2 separate regions of the Homo sapiens genome follow, and region 2 is linked to region 1. Evidence: promoter capture Hi-C in human tissues and cell types (Jung and others, 2019). All regions are on one chromosome and are shown on one strand. Each heading gives the region's core, a stretch centred on a gene start or on the middle of the fragment in contact. The rest is flanking DNA. Distances are from core to core; before and after follow the strand shown. Region 1 holds the start of C5 (complement C5). Region 2 has its middle 15 kb from the start of PHF19.

Region 1 (3,442 bases), core at 346-2,845:
TCTTATTGACTTATCAGTAGCATAATCTATCCATATAAATAATTTCATAGTTTTCTTTGTCTTTCAATTGCTGCAGAGGAGCAGGAGCTTGCAGAGAGGCAAGAATGTTATTTTGGCCTCTATCTGGAATGCTCTTTCCTCAAATATTTGCATGGTTTGCTTCCTCACTTCCTTCAGGCTCTGTTTGAGTGCAGCCTCCTTAAGAGAACCTTTCCTGGCCACATTTTAAAATAGTGCCCCATAATTATTTTTTAATTCTCATACTCTGCTTTATTTTTTTCTTCATAATACTACCTACCTGACCTTACACATTCTTTCATTGGTTCATTCATTCATTACTTGCTTCTCCCACTAGAATGCAAGCTCTAGGAATTGTCTTACCGTTTGCTATATCTGCAGTGCCTATCATATGTTTAGATGCTCAATAAATATTTGTTGAATCAATCAATCAACCAATTAATTAAAGTGATTGATTGCCATGTTGTAAATGGTACACTCTGACTTCTTCAGAGAAAGTGAGGAAATAATTTTTATTAAGGGCTAGTAGAAAGAATTCAGAATAAGTCTGGACAAGAATCATGGAACCCAGGTCCTAGCCCTAGTTCTGCCACCAATTTGAAGTCACTTAATTTCAGTCTCTCTAAGCCTTAGCTGCTCGTCTTTCAAAAAGAATAAAGGCAGGATGCTAAGGTAGTTGAGTGCTTGTGGCCATGTAAAAAGATCACAGATCAGAAATACGAGGGTGCTAAAAAAGAATGACATCCTAAGTATGTGTTTATATATAATATATTTACATGTATACATTTATGACAAAATGAAAAAAATTGAAGTGATAAACAGGAGACCTTAATAAAAATCCTGTTTCTCTCTCTCTAGAACTGTGACCTTTGGTCAGTCACTTCCCTTATCTGGACTTATTCTCATATATAAAATGAATAGGTTTGATTAGATGATCTGCAGTTACTTTTCAGTATTAAAATATTTCTAGATATAAGATCATTATTTTTAAAACATTACTTAAAATGCATATTATCTCAATAATGACACTAAAAATTGTGAAAAGTCAGCTCATAAATGTATGGTAGAAGTCACTACAACAACAGATTTTCAGATCACAGTATTAGATTGACTCCTAAATAACCCTGGTTTAACTGTGTATAGTCTATGAAAAACACAAAGAAAACTAAACACCAAGTTAAAATAAGCAAAAAATGTCAAGAAAGTTTATTATCTGGAGTTTCTTTTGTGCTTTTTTGAAGAGGAATTTGAATAATCACTTAACGTAAATTTTAATAAATAACAATTCCATAAAAGCTGTCATGTTGTTAGCTACTCATCAAATCAAAATGCTTCCATGACTTTCTCATTCAGAGATGATACTATTCACTTGCTGTTCTCAGAAGTAGCAAGTTATTTTCAAGTTAACAGAATCTGTTAAATTTAACTCTTCATTCGTCATAACTAAGATGCATTGAAAAATGAAGATAGCTTGTTTTACTTACGTTTGCTCCTGTCCCCAGGTTTTCCCCAGGAAGATTAAAAAACAAAGTATTCCCAAAAGGCCCATGGTTGGAGGTAGCAGGAAACCACGGATATAACACTTTTGAGGATAGTCTCCTTTTAAATAAACTGAACTTGAAGAATTCAGATAATCTGGTTAATTATTAATGTCAGAAAGGTGAACCTCTAAGTGGGAAAACTAGAATTGGAACTAAAACACCCTTTCATGCCCAGGAATACAGATAGGGAGTACTTTACAGGAACTTACACCCAGGGAATTTATTTTTATTAATACAAATAAAGGGACCCTAAAATGGGAATTTGGCACTATGAAGAGTGGCTCAAAGCTAGAAACCAGTAAGCCCATTGCTTTGGCCTTTCTTCTCTTGCCCAGGGCATTTGCTTTGATGTTGCATCATCTGCAAGCATACATCTGGCAGGTCCACTCTAATACTGATGAAGACCCACCTGGACTCAGTTTCACACTGAAATGATTTTAGAAGGGGCCTGGTTTAGACAGGGCTCACAAGATGATCTTTTTTTGGTGACCTGAATGGCAGTGTCCTTGGTGCTGCAAATGGTCTGAGCATAACCTAGCTCTGCAAAGGAGGTCTAGGGAATTGTTCCTTGGTCTGTCTCAGTCTAGAGAACACTAGGTGGAGGAAAGTTGTGACTGGCAATGAAAACGCCATGTGGAGGATGCTGTCGTCATTCTCTAAGTATTGGAGAATAGATATTCTCCAATATTTATTAAGGCATATACCACTCGTTCAAAGTTTGTCTTTATTCAGATATAGAATATCTTTCTTTTAAAGAAAACACATGTTATACTTTTCAGTGAGGATTTTAATAATTTTAATATAAGAGCTCCAGAAAAACAAAGCTTCCTATAACAATTGAGTCTAGTAATTAATTCACAATATACTAAAATTTTATCTTTATACTTTTTTTTTTTTTTTTGGAGACAGAGTCTCTTTCTGTCGCCCAGGCTGGAGTCTAGTGGCACTATCTTGGCTCAGGGCAACCTCTGCCTCCCAGGTTCAAGGCATTCTCCTGCCTCAGCCTCCCAAGTAGCTGGGACTACAGGCATGTCCCATCACATCCAGCTAATTTTTTGTATTTTTAGTAGAGGTAGGGTTTCACCGTGTTGGCCAGGCTGGTCTCGAACTCCTGACCTCAGGTGATCCACCCACCTTGGCCTCCCAAAGTACTGGGATTACAGGCATGAGCCACTGTGCCTGGCTGATTTTTAATTAAGTTAATTTTTATGATGTTTTATGTTCATTAGAATTTTTTTATTTACTACCTTCTCTTTTTTAGTACTATTTTTACCTTAATATATAATATGTACTCTTCTTTAAAATAATAAAACAGATGTCTCTAAACATATTTCTATAATGAGATATTTATGATATATAAATGAGATATTTATGGTCACATTGGCATTCTTTGCTTTGAATTAATAAATAATAAACCAAAAATATTTATAAACACTTTAATGCTGAATTCACTAGGGAAAAAAGGAGCACAAAGGGAAATTTGATATACAAATTTCACTAAAGGTATCTCTTGCATATGTCATTGAAATGACAAACATTTGCCACTATTGTCTGATCATCTAGCCCATTTATTTCAAAAGGGAATCTGTGAAATGATTAAGCTGGGTTGCAAAAGATGGGTCAAGTTAAAACAAACAGTACTTTTGCCATCATTTTTGGGAAATGAAATTTAAGAGAGAACAACAACACTCAAATCAAGGTAGGTAATATTTGTATTTTAAGTGCAAATAAGTTTGTTTGCTTGAGCTATAGAGTAAATACTGATAACCAATATTTGCAAGCCATTGTCCTGTTTCTCTGGTAGAAAACATTTAGAGAATGATGGATCTCAAAGATTCTCAACAGAACTGAAGTTTAACAATTTATAGATTCTAAGCTGTGTT
Region 2 (3,313 bases), core at 723-3,222, 160 kb before region 1:
CAAGACCTGGCACCCAGTAAATGTCCCATAAGTGTTTGCTGAGTGAATAGATAAACAAGTGATTATCATCATCCTTTTAACTTGATCTCAGCTTTGCAGAATAAAAACAGGCAGATGCTGTTGGACCCTGATTCAGGTTTTGTGAGCTGAGGCCTCACAAATGAGCCTGCTTTTTTTTTTTTTTTTTTTTTTCCTGTTAACGCTTTTGACGTTTTCATTTTAATATGTGAAACCTGGCTACTTGTCTCAGGGAGAGTTTATGGAAAAAAAGCTTCCAGCTGGCTTTGGGCAGCCCATAAAAATGTACTGAAATGTCTAACTTTGACCAGTTAGAAATTAGGAGCTGTTGGGGGATGCAGGCCGGTGACGCCACTCGCCCTGGTGAGGCCACTGAATTTCAGTAATTAGCTCTCTGGGCAGGAGGACTCGCTCCTAATTCCTTCCTGGTTCCGAGTCAAAGGATGAGGCCCTGAATCTGTTAAAGAGAAACCACAGCTTTCAGATAACAGACAAACATGTCTTTAACACACGCAATCTTTGATTCAAATGATTTCAAAGGGCATGGGGGAGGGAAGGGTTTTTGTGAGCTTTAACCGAAGCCGCTCATCAGAATGTCAGCTCTCCAAATCCTATCCTTCCCTCAGCTCAAGTCTGACCTCCTCCAGGAAGCCCTCCTTGGTAACCCCAGCCCATCACAGGTTTGTTCATCCACACGACTCCTTGCTTTAAAACTCTCCAGAGGGTCTGCCTAACTTCATGGTCAAGTTCAGTCTTCTTAGTTTGGCATACAAGGCCCTTTGTGATCTGACACCTTCTCACCTGTGTAGCCTCTTCTCCTACTCTCCACCCCCACCCTTTAACCCAGGTGCGACAAACAACCTTCACCCCTCTCCCCGGAATTTGGGCCTCAGAGCCTTGGACTGTGTTTTTGCCTTGATGGGGATTTTCCTTCCCCTTCGTCATGTGGCTGGATGGTCCTTATTCCCAAAACTCACCCCAAGCCTCTCCTGCAGGGGTGGGGAGAGATTGAGCCCCCAGGGCTGGGTTAGGTATCCCTGCTCATGCCCCAGAGCGCCTGGGTTTCTGCTCATCACAGTTAGTGTAAGGATCCATTTACTCATCTGCCTCTCCCGCCCTCTTCCCTTCTCTCCCCTCCTCTCCCCTCCTTTCCCCTTCTTCTCCTCTCCTTCCCTCCCCTCCCCTCTCTGAGGAACTTGGTCCAGCTACAGTCAATATCTAGAGAAGGTATTGGCCTAGAGAACCTTGCTCAATCTTAAGCCCGCACACCTGCCGTACTTTGGGATCACCCCGGGAACCTTAACATGCTGATGCCTGTGTTCTTATCTTCAGAGACTCTGGTTTGATTGGCCTGGATGTGGCCTAGGCATGGGGTGAAGAGTGTGGGTTGAAAAGCTCCCCGGGTGGTTCAAGGTGCAGCCCAGGTGGAGCGCCACCATAATTTACAGCACACGACTCAAGACCCACCCAGCCACTTAGAGGAGCTGCACTCCAGGCACCTCGGGGAGTATAACCTTGAACTCGGAACCCCACTATATTTGCCATATTTGTTGTGTTGAAAGAAAACTAGTCATCTGTTTATCTGAGTCAGTAGCATTGAGCAGCTGTATAGTCCCCCACAGGCCCCACCCAGTCTTCCGTGCTTGTTAGGAGAGACGGAAGCATCACAGTCACCTGGTAGAAGGATGCCTGTCTGAGCCCCACCCCAAATCCAAGGAGCCAGACCAGGGACCCTGTGCTATAAACAAGTCTCCTGGTGATCCTTCTGCACACAAATGTGCCAGGGCTCAAAACATCCTAAAACAGGCTGCAAACCCCTGACGCCTTGCAGAGCCAGGTAGGAAAGTTCAAAGCAAAGAAAGGCCTCCAGGGGACCATGCGGGGACTGGAAAACGACTGGCTCTAGCAAATTCTTGTCCTTTGGGAATGTGGGCCCCATGTTGTCAAGTCCCTCTTTTTTAAAAAGAGAATGCCAAAAATCTGAATTTTTAAAAAGGTGAAACTTGTTTAAAGCTGACAACTAATTCAAGCCATTTAAGTACACAGCTCAGACCAAACAAAACTTACCTGGGACCTGAATTTAGCATCTATTACCAATGTTTGCGGCAAACCCCACACGTGGATGAAGCTAGAGGGTGGTGTGCTTGCCTGGCCTTGTCTCGGCTCTCTCTTTTTTGAGCTGTTTTCCTGCTATGGGACTTGGGCCAGCACGGAGTAGGAGTGGGGAGGCGGTGGGGAGCGGGTACAGGAAACGGCCCCTGAGACTTGTGCCGTACGTGCAATTGGGAGGCTGTTTGGGGACATTGTTCCTCACGTTTAACAGTGTTCTCTTCATGCCAACTCTCTAAAAAAATACCTCTCAGGTCTCAGGGCCTAATAGAGTTTTGATTTGCCTCAGCAATGGTGTGCCAGTGTCTTATGGACACTGAATTGCGTGGGATCAAGTTTTAGCTGCTAGAAAGGTCAGAGGGCAATTTGTGGCCTGTCCCCATGGCATATAGGACCTCAAGGTCCACACTTGTATACCTGTCATTCCTGGGTGCTTCTGACCTTTCCAACTTCTGTTTTTCGTTTGATGCTTGTCACATGACCACTCCTGTAAAATTTTATGCTTGTATATCAAATAAAGAAGTTAAGTGCTTTCTGAAATAAGGCATGCTATAAATAAATAAGCCCATAAAAATAGTAAGTGCTGAAAAAAAGGGTTATTGAATACATGACTACTTGAATGATTCATTTTGTGGTTGCACACAGGGCCTTGCACAGAGCAGGTGTTCAGGAAATGAGGGCAGGATGGTAGAGTGGAAAGCAGCAGTTTAGAGATGGAAAGACAATAGCCCTGCCATTTCCTAGCGACTGGGACCTTAGCCAAGCTGACTAACCTCTCTTAGCCTCAGTTTCCTCGTCTGTACAATGGGGACAATCTCAGTGCCACCTTATCAGAGTTGCTGGGAGGATTGAGTAAGATGATGTAAAGTGCCTAGCATGTAACAGGCACTTAATAAGTGGCAGCTGTGATTATTTCAACACCAGAAATACCCTCATCTATGAATGTCATTGTTAAATGACTTAGTAAAGGCAGTAATGTGTGCAACATGAGTGAGGACGCTCTCCCTTTGCTCAAGCCAGCTAGAGTGTGACAGAGAAACCACATGGATTCACTGGGTCAATAAAATGGGGAGGCCTTCCAGAAGCTCTCGATTCCCTCAGCTCCTTGTCCCAGGTCTCTGCTCCCCTCCACACCAGGGCCCCTCTGATTATAGCAGTGATGGCAGGTGGCTCCCTGTCTGAGTGT

The links. Contacts are between HindIII fragments. The study calls those that stand out against the background at their distance.
Region 2: a fragment that was not itself captured here is called in contact with the fragment with the promoter of C5 in region 1 in 4 of the 25 tissues and cell types used here (dorsolateral prefrontal cortex, pancreas, psoas muscle and 1 more).

What each region holds. Positions count from the first base shown.
Region 1 is chr9:121,048,680-121,052,121 of GRCh38, forward strand. C5 (complement C5) reads right to left here and starts at 1,596. Exons shown (of 41, transcript NM_001735.3): 1 at 1,503-1,596. The coding sequence starts at 1,567. The HindIII fragment of the contact is 13,591 bases long and covers 1-3,442 here.
Region 2 is chr9:120,890,104-120,893,416 of GRCh38, forward strand. It overlaps a transcript of PHF19 not described here. Among named protein-coding and RNA genes, the nearest start is that of PHF19, 15 kb to the left of the region's middle. RefSeq lists an enhancer at 2,518-2,737. The HindIII fragment of the contact is 5,425 bases long and covers 1-3,313 here.